3 separate regions of the Homo sapiens genome follow, and all the other regions are linked to region 2. The links are contacts of gene promoters, found by promoter capture Hi-C in blood cells and fetal thymus (Javierre and others, 2016). All regions are on one chromosome and are shown on one strand. The core of a region is centred on a gene start or on the middle of the fragment in contact, and the rest is flanking DNA. Distances in the headings are between cores, read along the strand shown.

Region 1 (3,640 bases), core at 224-2,723, 700 kb after region 2:
TCCACAAAAGTAAAAAGAAATTTCCAAATTAAATGTCATCTTCTGCCCAACCCTAGACTCCAGACTTTGTAACAACATTTTTATCTAGTATAATAGACTCTGTAGTAGACTGATTTTGACCGCCACAAAGAGTAGGAGTTGTCAAACTTGAGGAGATAGACTCCTCTCCCTGGATATTGATGGCTGCCAGCATACACCTCCTCATGACAGTCCCGTCGGTACACAGGCACAATCTCATCCAGCAAAGGCTTGTTGGCATTCTTTTTGGCTTTCTCTTCACAACCGATGTTTTCTGTAAGAACAGAGACAAGTCAATGAACAGATTCAGGAAAACCACACTTGCATCAGGCAATTAAAATCTATCCTTTCTTTTTTTTCTGGAGACAGAGTCTTGCTCTGTCACCCAGGATGGAGTGCAGCGGCGTGATCTCAGCTCATTGCAACCTCCACCTCCTGGGTGCAAGCGATTCTCCTGCCTCAGCTTCCCAAGTAGCTGGGATTACAGGCGTGCACCACTACATCCAGGTAATTTTTGTATTTTTAGTAGACATGGACTTTCACCATGTTGGCCAGGATTGTCTCAATCTCCTGACCTTGTGACCCACCTGCCTCGGCCTCCCAAAGTGCTGGGATTACAGGCGTGAGCCACCGTGCCCAGCCTATCCTTTCTTTGAGAAACTGCTCTTGTTGGGAATTCTGTTGAACCATTTAACAAGTTATGTGCATGTGAGCATTTATTAGTTCGTTCATTCATTCATTCATTCACTCATTCATTCAAATACCTAAGTATGTGCTATACACCAAACCCTGTTCTGAGCCCTGGGAGCCCAGTGATGAACATCTAGTGGTAGCAGTGGTCAGCATCCTATCTCTTTCTGTGCTTACTACCATTCCTATTTCAAGGTCCCATTTTCCCCTTTCCATAGCCATTCAATTCCTAATTCATCCTCAGGAATTTCACTCATCTGAGTAACATGAAAATGTTGCTCTCATCATCCTCCTTCTGACCAATATGAGTCCTCCCCATTTTAGAAAGATGGAAGATGATTTGTGAGGACTATTGCTTTCTGTATATCTTAAATATAAGCAGTAAAATGAAAAAATCATAGTAGAGAGATAGGCATTCAGAGATACTCTGAAAATTCAATTATTTTCACTAGGCCAATTTAACCCAGAGATGATCTAAGTGGCAAAAAATGGGCTCTGAAAGGTTTGCCCCGGTTAAGAGTTTTTTGAACTGTAATGCTATGAGGTTAGGAAAAAAAATGCCTCTAGAAACCTACAGGAATGAGAAAATTATGAACCAGCTTCGAAGTCACAGTTTAACATATTTAATACAAACCAGCTCAAAGAGGTCAAGGGAGTATTCAGCACAGAAGACAAGACTTTCGGGTTTATGGTTGTTGTTTTTGTTTGTTTGTTTGTTTAAGAGACTGGGACTACAGGCATGGATTTTCAGGTTTATAACATGGCAGAGTGAATTCTGGCAACACACTGAGTGATGCTTGTCAATGGCCACTATCAGGAATTTAAAACAAGGTAAGTTTGAGAAATTCTCACCGTCTATAGCAGATTAAGGAGATATGATGACTGACTATAATGTGGCATCCTGGAAAGGATCTTGGAACATTAGGTAAAAACTAAAAACATCTGAATAAATATGGACTTTAGTTAATTAATGAATCAATGTATCAATATTGTTTCATTAGCTGTGATGAGTGCACCACAGTACAATGTAAGATGCTAACAACAGAGGGAACTTGGTGCAGGGTATATGGGTACTCTTTGTGCTATCTTTGTAACTTTTCTGTAAATCTAAAACTATTCTAAAATTAAAAGTTTATTTTAAAAAAGCAGATGGCACTCTTATAAAGGTAGGTCAAAACCAGATTTACTTAACCACAGAAATACCTATAATTAAGCATGTTTCACATGCAAATGAGAAATACAGAACCATCCAAAATGTACACTATTGTTGACATCCAAGAAATAGACTGGTCCATTGATTCAAGACTCAAATTTTGTTTTAAATCTATAAAACTAAAGATTACTGGGATAGATGAAAAGGCATCTTTTATGAATTTAAGCCAAGGTTTAGGACCTGTAAACAATGAAGAAAATGGAGAATTAAAACAGGAGGATGTGTTACCATCCATGCTTCTTCAGAGAAAGCAAACTCCTCTGTCTACCTTTCAAGACCTAAGGAAGAAAAACCAAACCAAAACCCAAAAAACTCAGACTCTTCTACCATATGAAATACAAGACACGGTAGGACAGTAGCTTCTAAGGCATATGGACAAATACAATTTGTGAGCTAAATCTTTAAATGGGATGAAGTGACGCTCATGTAATGAACAATTCTTAGGAATGATAAAGCTTCACTGCTGTGAGGCTAAAATGTTTTAGCTGCAAATCATTTTATGATTAGGAATGGTACAAGTACAGGGAATGCCATCTTTCATTTGAGGGACATATTAGAACTAAGATCAAGGATATTAAGGTTCTTACCTCTAGAAATGAACCCCTGCCATTTTCACTAGTGATCTTCCCAACACCAATATAACCCCAAAACTATCATCAGCTGAGGGTTCAGACTAGGCAGTAACCACCTTTTAGAAGCTCTCTAATAGGCAAGCCAGGAGAAATACATTACCTCAACCAACTTCTGAACAGAGAATTCTTATTCACAAAGCTCTTTCATTTTTTTTTTTTTTTGAGACGGAGTCTGGCTCTGTCGCCCAGGCTGGAGTGCAATGGCACGATCTCAGCTCACTGCAATCTCCACCTCCCGGGTTCAAGCGATTCTCCTGCCTCAGTCTCCCAAGTAGCTGGGATTACAGGCATGTGCCACCATGCCTGGCTAATTTTTGTACTTTTAGTAGAGATGGGGTTTCACCATGTTGGCCAGGCTGGTCTTGAACTCCTGACCTCAGGTGATTCACCCACCTCAGGCTCCCAAAGTGCTGGGATTACAGGTGTCAGCCACTGCGCCCAGCCATCTTTTTTTTTTTTTTTTTTTTTTTTTTTTTGAGATGGGGTCTGGCTCTGTGGCCCAGGCTGGAGTGAAGTGACTTGATCTCAGCTCACTGCAACCTCTACCTCCTGGGCTCAAGCAATTTTCCCACCTCAGCCTCCCAAGTAGCTGGGACTACAGGTGCACACCATCACACCCAGCTAGTTTTTTGTATTTTTGGTAGAGACAGGGTTTCATCATGTTGCCCAGGCTGGTCTTGAACTCCTGAGCTCTAGCAATCCATCCGCTTTGGCCTCCCAAAGTGCTGAGATTACAGGCAGGGGCCACCGTGCCTGGCCTCACAAAGCTCTTTGTAAGTACAGTAATTTGTATGCATACAAAAAACTTTCCTTCCCAGACATCTGCAGACAGTCTGACTTTAATGAGTCCCTGTGATGCAACAGAAAGGACAGAACAGGTTCTGATGTTGTTGAAGGTCACATGAGAAAACAGTAGTGCCCCCTGGCTAATCTGCTACAGTCCTGCTCTCTAACTGCTTTTTATTTTTTTTAATTTTTTTTTTTTTTTTTTAGAGGGAGGGCCTAGCTCTGTCGCTCGGGCTGGAATGCAGTGGTGTGATCATATAGCTCACTACAGCCTCGAATTCCTGGACTCAAGCAATCCTCT
Region 2 (3,536 bases), core at 681-3,180:
TTTTTGAGATGGAGTTTCGCTCTTTTTGGCCAGGTTGGAGTGCCATGGTGCAATCTCAGCTTACTGCAACCTCCACCTCCTGGGTTCAAATGATTCTCCTGCCTCAGCCTCCCAAGTAGCTGGGATTACAGGCATGCACCACCATGCCAAGCTAATTCTGTATTTTTAGTAGAGATAGGGTTTCACCATGTTGGCCAGTCTGGTCTCGAACTCCTGACCTCAGGTGATCCGCCTACCTCTGCTCCCGAAGTGCTGGGATTACAGATGTGAGCCACCATGCCCAGCCACCCAGCTGTCCTTTTAGGACACTTTCTGTACTCTCTGTAATAACAGAAGTCCCACACCAGGGCTGACTTTATAGAACCCTAGTTCCAAACTCTCTTAGTTCTGTCAGGAAAGCATTTGCATTTTTTTTTCTCCCCCGAGACAGGGTCTTGCTCTGTCACCCATGCTGGAGTGCAGTGGTGTGATAGCTCACTGCAGCCTCAAACTCCCCCAGCTCAAGCAATCCTCCCACCTCAGCCTCCCAAGTAGCTGAGACTACAGGCATAAGCCACCACACCTAGCCAGAAAAACTCTTTCTTTCTTTCTTTCTTTTTTTTTGAGATGGAGTCTTGCTCTGTCACCCAGGCTGGAGTGCAGTGGCTCGATCTTGGCTCACTGCAATCTCTGCCTCTCAGGTTCAAGCAATTCTCCTGCCTCAGCCTCCCAAGTAGCTGGGATTACAGGCATGCGCCATCACGCCCAACTAATTTTTGTATTTTTAGTAGAGATGGGGTTTCACCATGTTGGCCAGGCTGGCCTCGAACTCCTGACCTCAGGTGATCTACCAGCCTTGGCCTCCCAAAGTGCTGGGATTACAGGCGTGAGCCACCGCACCCGTGCCAGAAAAGCTTTTTTCTTAATAGCTCCCCTGGGAACCTCAGTTCTACCACCGAAGGTATACAATCACTCCAACAGATAACAAATCGACATTGTCGTGCATAAATGTAGAGCTGATCCGTATTTCATGTCAAAGGCCTGGACTGTGTGAAATTGGCTGGTATTTGTTCCAGAAGCACTTGTTCATGTTGAAGATGGGGCAGTTCTGAGTGGGTTAGCAGGCTGACGAGCTTGGCTCAGAAGCCGCTCACTATTGTTTGGGCTTTGCTTTTGACTTCACATCCTGAAATAAATGGTCGTTGCAGACCAGGCACGTGAGCAGGAAGTGGGCAGGGCTTAAAACACAGAGAAGTCATAACCTCTGCGGTTTGGTTCATGTTGTAATATGAAAACCAGGAAGCTTATCTTGCAGGAGGCTGATGTGTAAAAGTTCAGAATGGAGTGGAGCCCTCCCTCTTGGCACCCTATGCGCGGAGTCACCCTTTGTCTGCCACAGGAAGCACCCAGGTCCTGGCAGCTAGAAAACTGTAACAACTTGGAAACATTTCCCAAAATGTCATCATGGCATCAAAATGAGACAATCAATTTCTTGCAAAATTGTTTGCAAGAATACAATTTGATCAAAAGTAGAGTTAGACTTTTTTTTTTTTAAGACAGTTTCGATCTTGTTACCTAGGCTAGAGTGCAATGGTGATCTCTGCTTACTGCAACCTCTGCCTGCCAGGTTCAAGCGATTCTCTGCCTCAGCCTCCTGAATAGCTGGGACTACAGGTGTGCGCCACCATGCCCAGCTAATTTTTGTATTTTTAGTAGAGACGGGGTTTCACCATGTTGGCCAGGCTGGTCTGAAACTCCTGACCTCAGATGACCTGCCTGCCTCGGCCTCCCAAAGTGCTGGATTGTAAGCGTGAGCCACTACGCCCAGCCGAGTTAGACTTTCTCTAAGAACAGCCCCTCTGTGTGTTTTAACTTAAGTGAGAAACAACATGGGTGAGTCAGTGGTTGAAGGCAAGAGAGACACGGGAGAGACACTGATGCCCTGTCCATCCCTTCTCTGGGCCTCAGGGCATTCCAGCAGGTAGAGAACTCCACCCTCCTGCCTGCCTATCAGTCTGCTTGGTCTTGAAAGTCTGCTGCACAGAGTGGGTAGTGGCCATCTGAATCAGTGCTAACACAAAAGCTAGACAGCAATGCTTACAGGCTAGCCAGGAAAATGTTTTTACCAGAAAATTGCTTGAGAAGAGAACACAGAGTTTCAGTAGGGACATGACGATTGAGGATGGAAATGCTTGGTGAAGCAGAACATCCTGGCGTAGCCACAAGAAAACACAATAACCTTAAGGCAGTCACTCGAAGGCATCCTGGAGCCCCAGGCAGGGAGCATTTCACTTCACCAAGGCGTCTGGGGCCATCAAGTGGGAGAAAAAACTGAAGCCTAAAGCTCCTGCTACTGCTCTCTGAGCTCCCAGATCCCTGTACCTGACACCTGCCACACCTGGCTCGGCAGGTAACTAAGACTGGAAGAACCAGATGAGGAGTGGCTCTGCCACACTTATTTGAGAAAATGTCTGAGTAGTATCTGTCCAGCTAGGTCTTCCTGAGTTTCCCATGGCTCTTAAAGATTAGACATCATTAACTGAGTTTCCCAGCAGCACACCTGCCTGAGGTAGATTACAGTGTGGACTATTCCCTGTGAGAAGCTTCCTGCAGCATAGCGCCAGGGAAGGGCTAACCAAGATCGTGTCTTTGCAAAACACCTTTCAGACTGCAGCACCCCCAGGGTGAACTTCAGAGTCACTTTGATCTCAATTAGCATTCTTGGATATTATAAACAAACACCTAGACTCCCAGGGAGGGGAAAATCAGTACCCCAGGAAAATCACAGGAGATGGAGTTCTCAGGGCTTTATCACAGGCTGGCCATCGAAAGCCACAGGGAGCCCTCAGGCTAGCCAGGGTCACATCTCACCTCTGCCCAGCCACCCCAGGTGTTTCCTAGAAGCCCCCCCTTTTCCCGCTTTGGCCTGCCTGGCTCTTTTTGGCTTCTGAAAACAAAGAGAGGAGCTGTGTGCAGTCAGCCTGAGACACGTGGGAAGATGGTTGCTGCCCCTGCTGGCCCTAAAGCTCCAGAAAGCCAATGCCACCGTGCAGGCGGTGGAGAGCATATTCTGATATGGGAGGAGGAGGCGTCCGCAGACCCCTAGTTCCTAACTTTGGGTCATGGCCAAGGGACCTCCTGGGGAAAACTGCGTGCTAGAGAGCCGGTGAGCATATCTTAAGTTAGGCCCAAAGGGGACTGGGTGGGTTTCTTCCTCCAGCACCCCTGCTCTTCCCAAGAGGAGCCCCTTTCCTTCCCTGAGCTTCCCCTTCCCAGGCTCCTGTTTTGACAGGATGCCTGGGTCTGATCACAGCCACAGGCCCGTTTTGGGCTGTGTTCCCCCTGGAGTGTATTGGCCAAGGAATTCCTGGAGCATTTGAAGAAAGGCCCCTTCCCAGGGGCAGTATTCCTCCTGTAATTAAAAGGTTGCATTTCAAAGACACTTTTAATGACCCCAACCGTTGTTGCCAGAAAGAAAATGCTACAGAAGACGTGACTGACAGATTGCAGGGAGAGTGTTCAGCCCAGTGCTGGTGCAGATCCCCGTGAGGACACAG
Region 3 (3,364 bases), core at 18-2,517, 960 kb after region 2:
TGTCGCCCTCCCTTGTACTAAGTACTGAAAATCCACTGAGGGATATCTGGTCATTCCTAAAACACATTACAGCTCATGGAAGGGAGGAAAATCAAGCTACCTTGACCATGAGCACTAAGCTTGGGTAATATGTTGGAAGCGAGGAGGAACAGGGCAGATGAGAACCAGAATTATTAATACAAAGGTAGACATCGGCAAACTGGAAGCTGGAGGCAGGAGCCCCTGGGAAATGACAGGGGCCTTCAAGCCCACCACCTCACAGAAGGCTCAGGAAACCTCAGAAGGGGATTCAATCTATCAAAAAGCCCACATGAGAAACCCCCCTGGAGCCACTCTTACTCAAACCAGACAGCTGCAAATGCACCAAGAGAACGCGTCTGTGAATCTGGAAAATTTGGGGAAAATGTTACTTTAAAGCACAAATTAGGCTCAAAGTGAATGTACTGTACAGAAATGACACCTTTCTGCATAGTTCTGCCTAATTAAAATAAAAAATGAGAGTGAGCGTTTAAATGACGTGTTGAAATGACTGCCAAAAATAGGTTTAACAAAAAAAAAAAAAACCCACATGTCAGTCGCCACCATCCATGTAGAACAAAAACCCTCCAGAACAAGATAGGTCAAAATCAGATTAGCTTAAAGAGACCATGTACAATTCCCCCCCAACCCCTGAGGCGAACGGCAGTAATAAAACACCGCCACCCAGAAAGGAGAAGAGAAGAGGCTCCTCGTTTTCACAAAGCGAAAGGCAACACCAGCTGCAGACTTTATTTCCCGGGCTTTTCCTGCAACATCAGCAAAACCTTCCGGAAGGGTCGGCCGGGCCGCTCGGGAGGAGGGGCGGCCGCGGCCCCATAGGCCCCAAGTGCCGCTCCGAGGGCCCGGGCCCGCTCGCTCCCTGGGCCCGCCCTCCCCCAGCCTTCCCGGACACAGTTAACCCGGGGCGCCGCGTCCCCGCCCCGCCGCCCGCACAGCGGCCCGCACCTGCACCATGATGGCCATCCGGAGCGAGTCCTTGGGGATGCTCTCGCTGCATTTCTTGCAAGAGGCGCGCCCGCTCTTGGCGTACTCGACTCGATAGAGCTTATCCGAAGACTCCGCCATCCTCCCCTAGCTGCCGCCAAAGCTCCGGAAGCCCGACGCCACGACCTAGAAACACGCTGCCGCCTCGCCGCCTCGCGTGCGCTCACCCAGCCGCAGGCGCCTGAGCGGCCAGAGCCGCCACCGAACACGCCGCACCGGCCACCGCCGTTCCCTGATAGATTGCTGATGCCTGGCCGCGGGAACGCCCACGGAACCCGCGTCCACGGGGCGGGGCCGGCGGCGCGCGCGCCCCCTGCCGGCCGGGGGGCGGAGTTTCCCGGGCGCCTGCCGGGTGGAGCTCTGCGGGCCGCTGCCCTGGGGGCCGAGGCGGGGCTTGGGCTGAGCTAGTAGCTCTTTGGAGGACCCGGCGCCACCCCTTTGATTGTTCTGTCCCAGGAAGTCTTACTTGATTTCACAACTAATTTTACCCCCAACCCCTCCCCCTTTTATTTTTGAGACTGAGTCTCACCGCGCTGGAGTGCAGTGCCGCCATCATGGCTCACTGCAGTCTGGAACTCCTGAGCCCAGCGATCCTCCCACCTCAGCCTCCCGAGTAGCTGGGACTACAGGCGCTCACCACAACTGGCTAATTAAAAAAAAATTTTTTTTAGGGACAGGGTCTCGCCAAGTTGGCTAGACTGGTCTCAAACTCCTGCTACAAGTGATCTTCACGCCTCAGCCTCCCGAAGTGCTGGGATCAGGGGCATGAGCTACCACGCCGGCCCCAAACTCTTAAGTGTGTCCTCTCTCCCCTGAGGGCAGCTGGGTCCGGGAAGCGCAGGCCCCCGCCTCGGGAATATAGTTGATTGGCCCGAGGTGGACCCTGCAGTGCTAGGTCCACCCTCCTGGCTTGGACGGGCGTTCTAACCTGCCGTCCACAGACCGTCGGGACAAAATACCAACTGAAACCTAGCATTTCCTTTATTATGAATTTGACTACAAATACCAGGAGTATTAGCAGTACCTGTGACTTTGTGGGCAATAGTCATCACAGACGTTTTCATGTTACTTTACAGTTGTTGGTGATAACTCGAAATATTATTAAGCTCATCACTACTCGAAATTGTGGTAATGACTGCACCTGTTGCTATCAGATATTTTGTGTGTGTGTGTGTGTGTGTGTGTAAAGAAAGAGATGGGGAATCTCTCCATGTTGCCCAGGCTGGTCTTGAACCCCTGGCCTCAAGCAATCCTCCCACCTCGACTTCCCAAATTGCTGGGATTACAGGCATGAGCCACTGCACCTGGCCTAGATCTTGTTGTTTAATATAGAACTATACTTCAAAATATAGTTTATTAAAATTGGTTTCTTTTCTAATCCTATGCATTTTTTTTTTTCATTTCAAAGATTGTAACATGAGTGTGCTTTATTTGAAAATATTCAATTCTGGTATAGAGGATAAGAAAAATAAGCAGATGAATAAAACTCATAAAAAGTGTTAACCATAGAGAAGAAGCTAGTGGCTTAAGAGACAAGGATGTTGAGTAAGCAAGAAGGTTGTGAGACATAGGCCGAATCCTAAAAGTTAGTAACCAGTTAGATACGTTGAAGGTAGGCTGGGCACAGTGGCTCATGCCTATAATCCTAGCACTTTGGGAGGCTGAGGTGGCCGGATCCCTTGAGCCCAGGAGTTCAAGACCAGCCTGGACAACATGGCAAAACCTTGTCTCTACAAAAATTAGCTGGGGGTGGTGGCAGGTGCCTGTAGTCCCATCTACTCGGGAGGCTGAAGTGGGAGGATCACCTGAGCCCTGAAGGTTGAGGCTGTGGTGAGCCATGATAGTGCCACTGGACTCTAGCCTGGGTGACAGTGTGACCCTGTCTCAAAAAAAAAAAAAAAAGATATTTTGAAGGTAAACAGAATAAGTGGAAAATATGATGGAACAAATAAAAGTTTTACTTAGAGAATGACCAAGTCAAAAGGCATGATCATGCCATCTCTGGGTTGACAACTATATCATCCCTAAATGGCCACTCATTGGTGATAAGATTATGGTCCCATCCTGGCACCCATATGCTCTGCCCCAAAAATGCAGCTAAAGTTCAGGTCTGTTCAGCAGGCTGATTGGTGAGCTGCAGCTGTGGCTGAGTGTGCTTGCACTTGTGTCTCTCTGATAGTGCAGTGTGAGTTGCTCCAGGTACCCTCTGTTGAGCCGCCTTGAGCATCCTCAACTCTGTCAGTGGGACAGGCTGATGCGGCAGAGAGAGGGAAAACATATCAATATTAGCCAGGTGCAGTGGCTCATGCCTGTAATCCCAGCGCTTTGGGAATCTGAGGCG

What was found. Contacts are between HindIII fragments. The CHiCAGO score rates a contact against its expected background, and 5 or more counts as called.
Region 1: a contact is called between the fragment with the promoter of ACBD3-AS1 here and a fragment that was not itself captured in region 2, in 1 of 17 cell types (naive B cells). The highest score is 5.7, in naive B cells.
Region 3: the fragment with the promoter of PARP1 here is called in contact with a fragment that was not itself captured in region 2 in 3 of 17 cell types (total B cells, naive B cells and monocytes); the score reaches 6.2 in total B cells.

Annotation. Positions count from the first base shown.
Region 1 is chr1:226,146,530-226,150,169 of GRCh38, forward strand. It overlaps ACBD3-AS1 (ACBD3 antisense RNA 1), which reads left to right and starts at 1,474. Exons shown (of 2, transcript NR_146443.1): 1 at 1,474-1,539. It overlaps ACBD3 (acyl-CoA binding domain containing 3), which reads right to left. Exons shown (of 8, transcript NM_022735.4): 8 at 1-292. The coding sequence ends at 81. It also overlaps the pseudogene LOC124904586. The HindIII fragment of the contact is 12,330 bases long and covers 1-2,374 here.
Region 2 is chr1:225,443,836-225,447,371 of GRCh38, forward strand. No RefSeq gene overlaps it. Among named protein-coding and RNA genes, the nearest start is that of LBR, 18 kb to the left of the region's middle. RefSeq lists enhancers at 801-870, 1,371-1,420, 2,316-2,876, 2,877-3,437, 3,438-3,536 and a cis regulatory region at 975-1,514. The HindIII fragment of the contact is 1,300 bases long and covers 1,281-2,580 here.
Region 3 is chr1:226,406,826-226,410,189 of GRCh38, forward strand. It overlaps PARP1 (poly(ADP-ribose) polymerase 1), which reads right to left and starts at 1,268. Exons shown (of 23, transcript NM_001618.4): 1 at 985-1,268. The coding sequence starts at 1,104. RefSeq lists silencers at 843-942, 1,193-1,452, enhancers at 1,483-1,612, 1,791-1,935 and a cis regulatory region at 1,863. The HindIII fragment of the contact is 6,506 bases long and covers 118-3,364 here.